3 separate regions of the Homo sapiens genome follow, and all the other regions are linked to region 2. The links are contacts of gene promoters, found by promoter capture Hi-C in human tissues and cell types (Jung and others, 2019). All regions are on one chromosome and are shown on one strand. The core of a region is centred on a gene start or on the middle of the fragment in contact, and the rest is flanking DNA. Distances in the headings are between cores, read along the strand shown.

What was found. The method cuts DNA at HindIII sites, captures the fragments that hold promoters and counts their contacts. A contact is called where the count stands out against the background at its distance.
Region 1: a contact is called between a fragment that was not itself captured here and the fragment with the promoter of SLC25A13 in region 2, in 1 of the 25 tissues and cell types used here (dorsolateral prefrontal cortex).
Region 3: a fragment that was not itself captured here is called in contact with the fragment with the promoter of SLC25A13 in region 2 in 1 of the 25 tissues and cell types used here (dorsolateral prefrontal cortex).

Annotation. Positions count from the first base shown.
Region 1 is chr7:97,368,238-97,372,588 of GRCh38, reverse strand. All of the region lies in intron 2 of LOC105375416 (a long non-coding RNA gene), which reads left to right. Among named protein-coding and RNA genes, the nearest start is that of SDHAF3, 250 kb to the right of the region's middle. The HindIII fragment of the contact is 3,688 bases long and covers 167-3,854 here.
Region 2 is chr7:96,320,079-96,324,153 of GRCh38, reverse strand. It overlaps SLC25A13 (solute carrier family 25 member 13), which reads left to right and starts at 2,056. Exons shown (of 18, transcript NM_014251.3): 1 at 2,056-2,212. The coding sequence starts at 2,198. RefSeq lists a silencer at 1,921-2,260. The HindIII fragment of the contact is 12,396 bases long and covers 1-4,075 here.
Region 3 is chr7:97,397,414-97,401,991 of GRCh38, reverse strand. The region is part of intron 2 of LOC105375416 (a long non-coding RNA gene); the gene reads left to right. Among named protein-coding and RNA genes, the nearest start is that of SDHAF3, 280 kb to the right of the region's middle. RefSeq lists enhancers at 402-1,601, 4,230-4,578. The HindIII fragment of the contact is 5,687 bases long and covers 1-4,578 here.

The sequences.
Region 1 (4,351 bases), core at 761-3,260, 1.0 Mb before region 2:
TTACACTAAGTGAAATAAGCCAGACAGAGAAGGACAAATACTGTGTACTTCCACTTAGATACCTAGAATAGTCAAATTCATATAGAAAGAATAGAATAATGGTTACCAGGGGCTGGAGGGAGAGGGAAATGAAGAGCTATTGTTTAATAGGTACAGAGCTTCTGTTTGACTGATGGAAAATTTCTGGAGATGGATAGTGGTGATGGTTGTGTTCCTGAAACAACAAGGCTTCAGTCTAGTGCCTGCTGCTCACTGCACAGAAGGCCAATGACTGAGATGACGAGTATTGCAAAGGAAGAGGGATTTAATCGGGTGATGCAGCCAAGGAAATGGGAGCTCAGTCTCAAATCCATCTCCCTGACTGATTAAAATTAGGGGTTTATATAGCAGGCAAGAAATGTAACAATGTGTGAGGGAACCGGAACTAGGGAAGAGTAGGAAAACAATATGAGAGGCCTGGCTCTGGATGCAGTAATCTGGTGAGTTTCAGTTCTTTGATACTTTTTGAGAGGCCTGGGGGTTATTTCCTGAGGAAAGAATTCAGATAAAACAATTGTGGGTTGGCCAGGCGCGGTGGCTCACGCCTATAATCCCAGCACTTTGGGAGGCTGAGGCGGGCGGATCACGAGGTCAGGAGATCTAGACTATCCTGGCTAACACTGTGAAACCCCGCCTCTACTAAAAATACAAAAAAGAAAATTAGCGACGCGTTGTGGCGGGCGCCTATAGTCCCAGCCACTCGGGAGGCTGAGGCAGGAGAATGCGTGAACCCAGGAGGTAGAGTTTGCAGTGAGCCGAGATTGCGCCACTGTACTCCATCCTGGGTGATAGAGCGAGACTCTGTCTCAAAAACAAAACAAAACAAAACAAAACAAACAAACAAAAAAAAACAGTTGTGAGTTTCAAGCTGTAAGACCAGAGGGGTCAATTTCTACGTTTATCCAAAAGAACCCTCTGTGGGACTATTGGGTCGGTTTCAGTTGCACAAGTGTGAATGTACTGAATTGTACACTCAAAAAACTTTAAAATAGTAAATTCAATGTTACGCATATTTTACTACAATAAAAAATGTTGAATCCATTATCTTTATTTCCACACATCCTCTTGCCCATTCTCCACAGACAGTTTTAAAATGTAAAGTAGGTTTTGTCTCTATGCTGTTGAAAGCTCTCCAGGGATTTTCAATTATATTTAAAATGAATCTCCATTCCTTTTCAGGCCCCCTGGCCCCATAGGCCTTGATTCTCTGACCCTACCCCTTCTCTATCACTCCCCCTAGCTGGCCTTGCTGCCCCCTAAATGTGCAAAGCTCAGTTGTGCTCGAGGTCTTTACATTTCCTTTTCTCTGCATGAAACACTCTTAGCCCCAGAGTTTCACAGGACTTGCCTTACCTTTCAATCAAGTCTCTACTCAAATGTCACCTTCCCTGACCACTAACCTAAGCTAGCACCTCCTTCACCCCTACCCAGTCATTTTTTATTTTCTCACCCTGCTTTAATTTCTTCAAGGCACTTGTCATTATCTGAAATTATGTTATTTATTGCCTTATCTTTTTATTTTCTAAGTCCTCCACTAGACTGAGGGTAGAGTCTTTTCAGCACCATATCATCATCACCTAAAACAGTAACTGGCACATCATAGGCATTTTATGAATATTATTTGAATGAATTAGTTCTGAGAGTAGAAATCCTGCTTTTCTGAAACAGACTCCATTTAAAACCAACCAAACTAGTGTGAATTGAAGCTTACTTAAAGTGGATCAGCTTGTGTGATGGACATGGAGAAGCACCCTTCTAAAAGGGATTGTGGCCCCGCTGCTGGAAGAATGATGTCAGCAGATAGTCTTTTGCTGTAGATTGCTTCAGGGATTGCTCCAGCTGCAGGGGGCCACCTGGTCAAAAGTCAAGTATTTCCTGGGACGCCAACACCCAGTGATTGACGGAGATAGGAAGTATAAGGACACAGCCAATTCCTCCCAATGCAGGCCAACTCTGAAGGGCCATCTTAGCTCTACTGCAAGCTGGAGGATTGGCAGAGGCTGTCCTCAGGCCTGCCTCACAGCTTAACATCTCCCTGTGCCCACACTTGTTCTACCCCTTGTTTCCACAGGTGTTAATTTCCAAAGTGTGACTCCCTAATAAACAGCCTGCACACTAACCTCCGTCTCAGCATCTGTTTTCCTGGGAACCCAACCTGGAACCACTGTATGCATAGGATGAATATGAAAGGACCACATCCCAAACTTGTCCCCTTGAGTTACAGGTAAAAAAAATATAGTGTGTATCAACTTTGGTGAAAGCCTGAAACCAATCAGACACTTCATAGTAATGCTGGTAGGGCTGGAGAAAGTTTTAGTGGTGTCAGATTTTTTCCCCACTCAGTAAGGTTTGTTCATAATCTTTCTGGGGTCTAGGGTTGTGTTCATTTCATTATTTTATTTATGTTAGCTCTATATTGTCCACCATCTGATTTGTGAGAAGGAACTAAATAAAGCAAGTGATTTACCCTTAGAGGTGGCAAGTGCCTCATGTCGCCATAAGGCGGAGAGGTGCACAAGGAAAGACACCTGATTGTCGTGGTGCAGAGTGCAGGGGACAAGATGTGGACAGTTTGCTAAGAGGGCGGGTCCAAGGCTTTAACCAGCTCACAGATGAGTTCAGGGATCCCCTGGGTACAACAAAAATGTGGTACATATACACACTTTTCCAGGGGTCCAGATTACCAAGAAAGCTGATTCTCTGAAAAAGGTTAAGAGGACTGGCATGGTAACCATGTCAACTGGACTGCTCCATGGAGTTTCCAAATTAAACGGCATTTCCAAGTGTGTCTGTGAGGTTGTTCCAAATGAAATTAGCATTTGAAACAGTGGACTCACTAAAGTAGATTGCCCTTCTCAATGAAGGTGGGCAACATTCAATGTCTTGAGGCCCTCAAAAGGAGAAAAAAAAAAGGTGGAGGAAGGAGGAATTTACCCCTTTTTATTCCTACATACTTGCTTGAGCTGGGTCATCAGTGTTCTCATTGGACTGAGATTTACACCTTTGGCCCCCTGGTTCTGAGGCCTTTGTTTAAAATAATAATAATAATAAATAATAATATTATTAATTATTATTAATTAATAATAATAATAAATAATAATATTATTAATTATTATTATTAATTAATAATAATAATAAACCAGGCGCAGTGGCTCATGCCTGTAATCCCAGCACTTTGGGAGGCCGAGGTGGGCAGATCATGAGGTCAGGAGATTGAGACCACCCTGGCTAATACAGTGAAACCCTGTCTCTACTAAGAGTACAAAAAATTAGCTGGGTGTGGTGGCACGCACCTGTAGTCCCAGCTACTTGGGAGGCTGAGGCAGGAGAATTGCCTGAGAACCCGGGAGGCAGAAGTTGCAGTGAGCTGAGATCGAGCCACTGTACTCCAGCCTGGGTGACAAAGCAAGACTCCGTCTCAAAAATAAAAAAAAAATAATAATAATACATAGCATTTCTACACGTTTGTGAGGTACGTGTGATATTTTGTTACATATGTAGAATGTGTAATGATAAAGTCAGAGTATTTAGGATATCCATCACCTCAAATATTTATGACTGTGTGTTGGGAACATTTCCAGTCCTCTCTTCTAGCTATTTTGAAATATACAATACATTTTTGTTAACTATCATCACCTTATTCTGCTATCGAACATTAAAACTTATTTCTATAGGTCATAACCAACCCCCGCCCATCCACATATACTTCCTTTCCACCCTCTGACATCTATCATTCTACTCTCTACCTTTAGTTCCCACATACAAGGAATAGCATATGGTATTTGTATGTCTGTGCCTGGCTTATTTTACTTAACATGATGACCTCCAGTCCTATCCATGTTGTTGCAAATTACAGGATTTTACTCTTTTTTTATGGCTAAATGGTATTCCATTGTGTATATATACCACATTTTCTTATTAATAGATTGATTCTATATCTTGGCTATTGTGAATAATGCTGCAATAAACATGGGGTGCAGGTATCCCTTTGATATAATGACTTTCTTTCCTTTGGATAGATACCAAGTAGTGAGCTTGCTGAATTGTACGGTAGTTCTATTTTTAGTTTTTTTTAGAAATCTCTATACTGTTTTCCATAGTAGCTGTACTAATTTATATTTGCACCAACAGTGTTTAAGAGTTCACTTTTCTCTGCATTCTCATCAGCATCTGTTTTGTTTTTTTTGTTTGTTTTTTGTTTTTTTTTTTAATTATACTTTAAGTTCTGGGATACATGTGCAGAACGTGCAGGTTTGTTACATAGGTACACATGTGCCATGGTGGTTTGCTGCACCCATTAACCCATCATCTC
Region 2 (4,075 bases), core at 807-3,306:
GTATTCCTCTAGTCCTAGCCCATCCCCAGCCTGTCTCGTCTGGACATCCTGGTAGTTCAGTTGGAACCCATCCTCCATACTGCAAGCAGTGTTTTAGTCCATTTTGTGTTGCTGTAAGGGAATTCCTGAGACTAGAAGAACAGGACGGAAATGTATTTCTCACAGTTCTAGACGCTAGGAAGTCCAAGATCAAAGTGCTGGCAGGTTACGGCCTGGTTTCTCTGCTTCCAAGATGGCTCTTTGAATGCTGTGTCCTTCAAAGGTGAGGAATGCTATGTTCTTATATGGCAAAAGAGCAGAAGAGCAAGAGAGAGTGAACCCACTCCCCAAACCTCTTTTTATGGCAGCATTAATCCATTTATGAGGGCAGAGCCCTTGTGATGAAAATACCTCCCCAAGGACCCAACCTTCCAACACTGATGCATTAGAGATTGTATCCAACACATCAATTTTGGGGGGCACATTCAGACCATAGAGAGATCTTTCTATATCGAAAACCTAGTCATGCTGCTTCCTGACTTAAAACCCTTCAGTTAAGGTGCATACCCTTCAGCAAGGCGCCTAAGACCCACCATGACACAGCCCCTACCTGCTGGGCCAGACTCCTTCCACTAGTCGTGCCACTGCCCCAATCCCATAGCTCAAGATCAAGTTACCTTTTGATATGGTTTGACCGTGTCACTACCCAAATCTCATCTTAAATTGTAGTTCCCATAATCCCCACATGTCATGGGAAGGACCCGGTGAGAGACAACGGAATCATGGGGGCGGTTACTCCCATGCTGTTCTTGTGATAGTGAGTTCTTATGAGATCTGATGGTTTTACAAGGGGCTTTCCCCCCTTTGCTTGGCACTCATTCTCTCTCCTGCAACCCTGTAAAGAGGTGCCTTCCACCACAACTGTAAGTTTCCTGAGGTCTCCCAAACCATGCGAAACTGAGTCAATTAAATCTTTTGGTTTATAAATTACCCAGTCTCAGGTATTTCTTCATAGTGGCATGAGAATTCTCAGTATTCTTATTGAGCCCTGGGAACAGTCTGCTGCCTTAACAGGTTATACTGAAGTAAACATTTATGTGTCTCTTTCCCAATAGCCCTGAAGCTGTTTAACGGTTGGAACCAGTTCTTAAGTCATTTCGGGGTTTCCAGCACCAAGCACAGTGCCTAGCACATAGTAGGAAGGCACTCAATCAACGTTAATGAATTAAACTGATTAGTAATAAGTGCTTTTTGCTGCCATATTACATCCACAACCTACAATACATTAAAAGTCCTTTTCCCTGATCACCACTGTCTTATAAATTTTGATTACAAGGACAGAAGAATGAAATCCTGATGAAGAGGAGTAAGGCCTGGAGGTCATATAAGCAAATTTTCATTAAAATGCTTGTTTATTTATTTTAGTAGGGCCTATTTGGGGGAAGTCTTTTGACCCGGGCCTTTTGACTTCTACCGTTTTAACAGGTAGGGCTGAAATGGAGTAGTTTCATGAATATACGTTCTGCACTACATTCACTTGTTGGGTTCTTAAGAGTTCACCGATTTTGATCTAAAAGTAGGCGTGCCAGCAATATTTGCAATCTCGCCTTCTAAGTCAATGCTTTTGGATCAAAGTCTTTTTGGATCCAGTGTAAAGTGGAGCTCCTTCAAAGGGAACGCACAGGGGAAAAAATATCCAGCAAAGTATGTGTCCTAGTGGAGTTCTCAACTTCCCCAGGCCGTGCACCATCTGTCGTTACTTGCCCCTCCCATCGGTCCGAGGGCCCAGTAGCCCCTGGTATCAGCAGAAGCCAGCAGCTTCCCTGGTGGGGCCACCTGCCCTCAGGTGACGGGCTTGCACACGGCCAAGTTACCTCTGCCCACGCCGCAGAGGCCGCCGCTGCTGGACAGCGCAGCGGGGTCACGTGTCCCTGTCCAGCCACTGCCCCAGGATCTGAGCCCTCCCCGGCTGCAGGGCAGAGGCCGCTGGATCACGCGCACCCCGGCGGCCAAGGCTGGGCCCAGCCAATGGGCGGGCAGCATCCACATGACCCGCGCCGGCGGGAGGGCGTGGGGAGGCAGGCCAGGAACGCACGCTGCCTGGCCGTATCGCCGCCCCCACCGCCGCCGCCGCCGGGACTAGAAGTGAGCCGCCCGGGTCCCAAACGCCAGCCAGCCAGTCAGTGGGTCCCGCAGTCGCCCGCAACCGGGGCGAATCATGGCGGCCGCCAAGGTAACCGCGGGCCCGAGGCCGGGGGGAGCGCGCCTGCCGGATCAGCCTGGGGGTGCGAGAGGCTCGGGCGCTCACGTGTCTGGGTTGGTGCCACAGGCGGAGCAAAATGGGGTGCCGGGCAGCCGTTCCACCTTGCGGCTGCTGGAGGGAGGGGGCCACTCCTCCCGGGCAGCACAGGCGGTCGGTGCAGAGACCGAGGCCCGACCTCGCAGCGGAAACTTTGTGGGCCGGACACTCCCACTTGGCCGGGGAGGGAAGTTGGTGCCTGACGGGGCTGAGCCAGGGCCGACGAGGAGGAGCGGGCGCGACTGGGGCCTGGTGCACCCTGGGCCGGCAAGCGCTGGGGGTCCTCTCTACCTTCCCAGCGCGCTCCTGCTCCTGACCCCGCTGGTTGTTGACTCCGGCTTCTTCCAGGGGCCAGAGCCCGGGCTGAAGCCTGATCCTATTACGTTTCAAGGGCTCCGCCCTCCCGCGGGTGGGGAAGTTACTTTGACTTCCGTTTTGGAAACTGCCTAGGAGACTTGGTCTGCGCCTTTGTGAATAAAAAGTCCAGGGACTCTCCCCCTCCCCGCTTTCCCATCATTCCCATCTTCCCCCTCCCTCTCTCCATCTGACAACACTTAGATACCCGCCTCGGAGCATTTGAGAGGCTTCTTTTTGGGAACGATGAAACAGATTGTCCTGGGAGCCTGTCACTCCTGTGAAGTTGTACTTGAAAGGGGTTCTGTGTAATGTGAATCATTCACTAACCCAGAGGAAAGGCAACTCCAACACTTGACCTTTCCTCTTTCACCATTTCTTGAAACCTGGACACCATTTCAGTCTCTTTGGACTGCATTTCAACTTCTCTGGCAGAATACCATATTTAGTCCCAATCACTTGAATCATTTGGAATTTATTGCTTTTAATTTAAGTTCACGAAGGCAGCCCTCTAATCAAGCCTATACAACTTCTTAGCTCATTTTAAGTGCAGTGAACTTAAATATACCTAACATTTCAAACATTTGTCCTTAATCAAAACTCTGTGATAACCCTCAAGAGGAAAACATGGCCAACACATCATATTCCTATTTATTCAAGCAAACTAATCACATTTGCAATGGAAATTGTAAGCAGACAAATATATTTAAATGCTGTTCTATGACTTAAGTCTCTCCAGGCTCCCCAAATCCGTAGGCTTCTTCATGTTGTTAGTTTCTGTGGTCTAAGTGGCATTTCTCTTTTCTGTAATTACTCTGAGTTTCATCCTTAGGAAAGTACTCTGGGTGTGTGGGCTCATGTATGTTTGCATATGAACACACAGGTGTGCGTGTGTATATCTATCTATAACTTTTCAGCAGTTTCTCTGAGCATCACTAGGATTCAATTTTGGAAGCTGCCTTAACCCTTTCAAGCCCAATAGCCCTTGACCTTTTTTTTGCATTAAATTTGCATGCAACCAAGGTACAAGGCTTGGTATGAACTAATTCCCTAGAGTAGGTGGGACTAGGTACCCATTCTTTACTGTTAGTTTTATATCTGCAGGTAATGTAAATACTTTTACTTTATTAGGAGATAAGGTAATTGAGGAACATAAATTGAGACGTGTGCATAGAAATGGAGTATAAGACTTGAGTAATATTAAGTAAAATAAGTGACCTGGTGCTGTGGCTCATGCCTGTAATCCCAGCACTTTGGGAGGCTGGGGCGGGCGGGTCAGTTGAGGCCAGGAGTTCGAGACCAGCCTGGCCAACGTGGCAAAACCCTGTCTCTACTAAAAATACAAAAAAGTTAGCTAGGCGTGCTGGTGGGCACCTGTAATCCCAGCTACTCAGGATGCTGAGGCAGAAGAATCGCTTAAACTCAGGAGGCGGAGATTGCAGT
Region 3 (4,578 bases), core at 1,302-3,801, 1.1 Mb before region 2:
TAGAAGGAATTTGGGTCTTTGGAAACTAGTCAGTGAGGTTGTAGAAACTGACAGAGATGGGAGGATTTTTCTGCTGCCCTTCATTCTCACTTCAAAATAATGTTGAAACACTTTCAGGTTTCCTCATTGTTTTTAGCTCTTTGTGGGGTTTTCTTTCTTTCACATGTCTCAACAGCTCTGGGCTCAGAGACTGGGAATGAGAGTCAGAAAGAGGCACCATAACACTTCCCTCTGGTGGGGAGGCACGGCCCTGGGAACAGTCCACCATATTACCTCGGTTAACTGGGTTCACTAGGGAGGTCTCTGGCTGCACACTGAAAGACAACATAATTCTAAGACAGAGGTACCTCTCTCAGGAATTTTGTCAACACTACATGTCCGTTTCTTGCATCAATGCAAAGATTTTATTCTGGGAAAGATGCCAATTTTTTTTTGGCTTTCTGTGTAGATGATAGCCACAATTTCTAAACCTATTTGTTTCCCACAAGAGGCAAAAAGAGCCCATAATTATTTGACGAATGTCAGAAGGTGTGTTTAGCCCCTTATTCAAGCCATAAGGGGGTCTCCTGAACCAACGGCCTGCAAAGCTCCTTTATTCAAAGTGGATCATGCTCCAACCTCTGTTTGTGTGCCAGGTTGATCTGTAGCAAACTATCATGGTCCACAAATCAGTGGCTAAATGTTTAATGTCTAGGATAGGCACACAACCAAAGTCATGGGAAGCATACCTCAGAAAAAAGTTAAACTTGATCTTCAGTGGCATCTTTTTCAGCATATATATAATCCCAGTTGAGTTTCTCCTAAAACCTCCTGTGGATACCCACATAATGTGAACAAGGTTTTAAAAGAATCAGGATGTAAATACTGGGAACATGTAAATTCAAGACCACAGATTACAGCTTTTAGATATCCTCCATGTGAACCTAGAGATTCATAGTAAACAAAAAAGCATAAGATACAACGTTTTAAATATGTGGAACAATAAACAAAACCATTCTTAGGATAGCTATTTTTTTAAACTATACATACAGAGTTAAAATAGATTACTACTTAAATGCATATATTTAATATATTTTTTCATGCTACACTGATAAAATATCCCAGAAACTCAAAGTTTAAAGCCATTGAGATTTCTACTAGTAACTCAAATTGTTGCCAAGTCATTGTGAGTTAGCTGAAGTGTCAGAAAACATGTGCATTTTAGAAATATTTTGGGTTTTCACCAGGCGGAGCTTGCAGTGAGCTGAGATCACGCCACTGCATTCCAGCCTGGGCGACAGAGCGAGACTCCGTCTCAAAATAAATAAATAACTAAGTAAAAATAAAGAAATATTTTGGGCTTTGTTTGTGTTCTCTCGTTTAGGAAACAGCACTTTTAATGTAGCAAAAATGTTCACTAGTTTCTTTTTTTTTTTTTGAGACGGAGTCTCGCTCTGTCACCCAGACTGGAGTGCAGTGGCATGATCTTGGCTCACTGCAACCTCCATCCACCTCCCAGGTTCAAGCGATTCTCCTGCCTCAGCCTCCCAAGTAGCTGGGATTATAGGCACGTGCCACTGTGCCTGGCTAATTTTGTTGTGTTTTTACTAGAGACGGGGTTTCACCATGTTGGCCAGGCTGGTCTCGAACTCCTGACCTTGTGATCAGCCCAGCTCGGACTCCCAAAGTGCTGGAATTACAGGAGTGAGCCACCGTCCCCAGCCACTAGTTTCTTATAATATAATCATGGTTGGAAGGTTTTGGCCTGGACATAGTGAGTTAACAAAAACCTGTTCTATTATCCTTCAGACAACTGTGCCTTACCTCTTCTGGTCGTGCTGTATATGTCTTTGGGCCTGATTTTCCTGTGGGTATAAAGTAAACTTTCCTTCCTTTTCCTCATACATTCTATTTACAAATAAAAAATAAACTCCTTCATAATTAATTGGCAACAATGTCCAAGTAAGAGTTAAGCATATGAAGGATTTAGGGGTTATTTCTCCTACTTCGTGTTACCCAGGCAAAACATATTTGTGGGTTTTGATAACTATGATGAAACTACAGCAAGGCTATTGTAGTGTATGTGTTAGTTCAAGTATATATCCCATTTTGAATTTTTAAAATCAGGGAGCTATCTTCCTGGAATGGTCACAGTACAAATACTGTTGCCTTAAATTTTTTCATTTAACCTTCACCAAAAAGCATTATGTAGGGCTAGGATATTGGGAAAGTCAGGGTTTGTTATATACTTCATCAGTCATCCAAACTTCAGTGAGTTCCCTTAAGTGTTTGCCATTGGGTAGGAAATAGTGAAGATTTATTCTAAACCTGAAAAGTAAAAAAAAAAAAAAAATCATGATTATAAGGGAATATACATGATACATCATGAGGTAAGTCACTAGGAGCAGAAAGCTTATTAAATCTCCAGTTGAAAATGTATCTATGTTGGAAAAAAACAGACATTCTGATTTTCAGTTTTTCCCTCAGGCACAAGCTTAGTCACAGCTTCGTCTGTAAAGATACTGGTCATATTCATTGTATTTTGGAAAAGTACAGGTGTACATAAAGCCACTATATCTTTAAAATATATAAATAAGTAACTTTTCCTGACAAGTTTTAAAATGTAAGACATGTGATAGAACAGTTTTCCTCAATTATATGATTTTATTTTCCACAGCGGTACAGTTGTATAGTTTTCCCTGTTGTCATTTTACACATCAGTTCTGTTGACACTTGCCACCATTCTTTTTTTCTAGAGTTCCAGGAATTTGCCTTTGGAACTTTTTCCTAACTCAGTCTTCAGATACAACTTTATTACATTTTATTTTTAAATTATTATATATTATTATTAAAATACTACAAAAAATTATTACATATTACATTATTAAGGTAAAAAGAATTCAGCCAACAGAACATTCTTTAACTGTATCAATCCAATTAATTAAATTTAATAAATTCATTCTATACATTAAATTGCAAAAAAATGCTAAAACAAAAATTGCAAATTATTTTATTATTAGATTAGATTATTGAACTTAGTTGTACACTCCAACATACGTGGAAAAAAATAGACATTTAAAGGTAGTGAATGAAAAGATGGGAAATTATGCTTTAGGCAAATACCAACCAAAGCATTGTGGTATAGGCAAAATGCTATCAAACAAAATAGACTTTAAGACAAAGGTAGCATGAAAATAACGGGATCCCACATATATGAAATTTTTAATTCACCAAGAAGAGATAATCTGACATCATATATACCCAATGACATAGCTTAAAATACACAGAGCAAAATTTGACAAAATTAAAAGGATGAAATGAATGCACCAGCATGGTGAGAGATTATATCAGACATATTTCAGTAACTGACTTAAAGCGTAGGCAAGGAGAAATCACAAAGGATGAGGATTTGAACAGCACAATTTAAAACCTTATTCTAGTGTACATATATAGAATGCTGTACTCCCTGTTTGAGAGTACACATTCTTTTCAAGCATACATGGAATGTTTTTAAAGAATACATTATGAACTGTACTTAAAGAAATGTCACCTAATTTCAAAAACCTGTATCATACATGTCTTAATATTGGACTTCCCAAAAATTGAATTAGATAATAATTACCAGAAAGGTATCTTTAAAAATCTACATATTTCAAATCTACACTTGGAATTTAAACATATGCCTTAATTACCCATGGTTAAAAGAAGAAACTACAATGGAAATATAAAATAGTTAGAACCACAAATCTAAATGAAGGAATTATATATAAAAACTTGCAGGATCCAACTAAAGCGTCTTTGTATTAAGGGAATGTTTTACCACTTTAGAAAAGAAGTCTAAAAATGAAAAAGGTGCTGTAAGTACCTAGGCTGCAGAAATCATGCAGAAGCTACTGTGAACAACTATAAGGAAATAAATTTGAAACAGGTGGAATGGTCCAAGACCTAGAATGATACAAGTCACTAAAACTGACCTATGAGGAAATAGTAAATCCAAATAGCCTATAACTGTATCAGTCAGGGTCCATTCAAGGAAGCAGAAAATTTTAACATCAGGAATTGTTTAAAGAGGCTTTAGGACAACTGAAAGAGCAGAAGGAGACCTCTGAGGTGACCCAGGGATGCTAGTTGCAGGCAGCATCTGCTACTCCTGGAGCTGAATGTGAAAAGGAAGAGTGGGGGTTCTCCCAATTTAACAGCTTGGAGCAGGACTCTGCAGAGGTGGGACCCAGACCTCTGGTAAGAAGGTATTGTCCAGCTGGTGCTGGTATTTGGGAGTTCAGAGGAAGCAGTCCTGCTTCCAGCCAGCTGATGTTGGTATCTCTGAGGGGACACAGTGAGGCTAATTCTGAGACTATAGAAGAAACTGGAACCAAATGCTGCTGCCAAAGTGAAAAACATTGCAGAAATGCCACTTACAGAAACAGGAAGCAAAACTGGCAGGAGCAGTTTCCTTTCCTTCTCTCCAGTCTCCTCATCTCCATTTAGTGGCTACTGGAAGAAGCTAACAGGGAACTAGGTAGAAAGGAAAAATGTGATTTGAAGAGTGTCTGTCTCAGCATCACAAAGCAAATGAGAGAAGGGTGGTTTGGAGGCTAG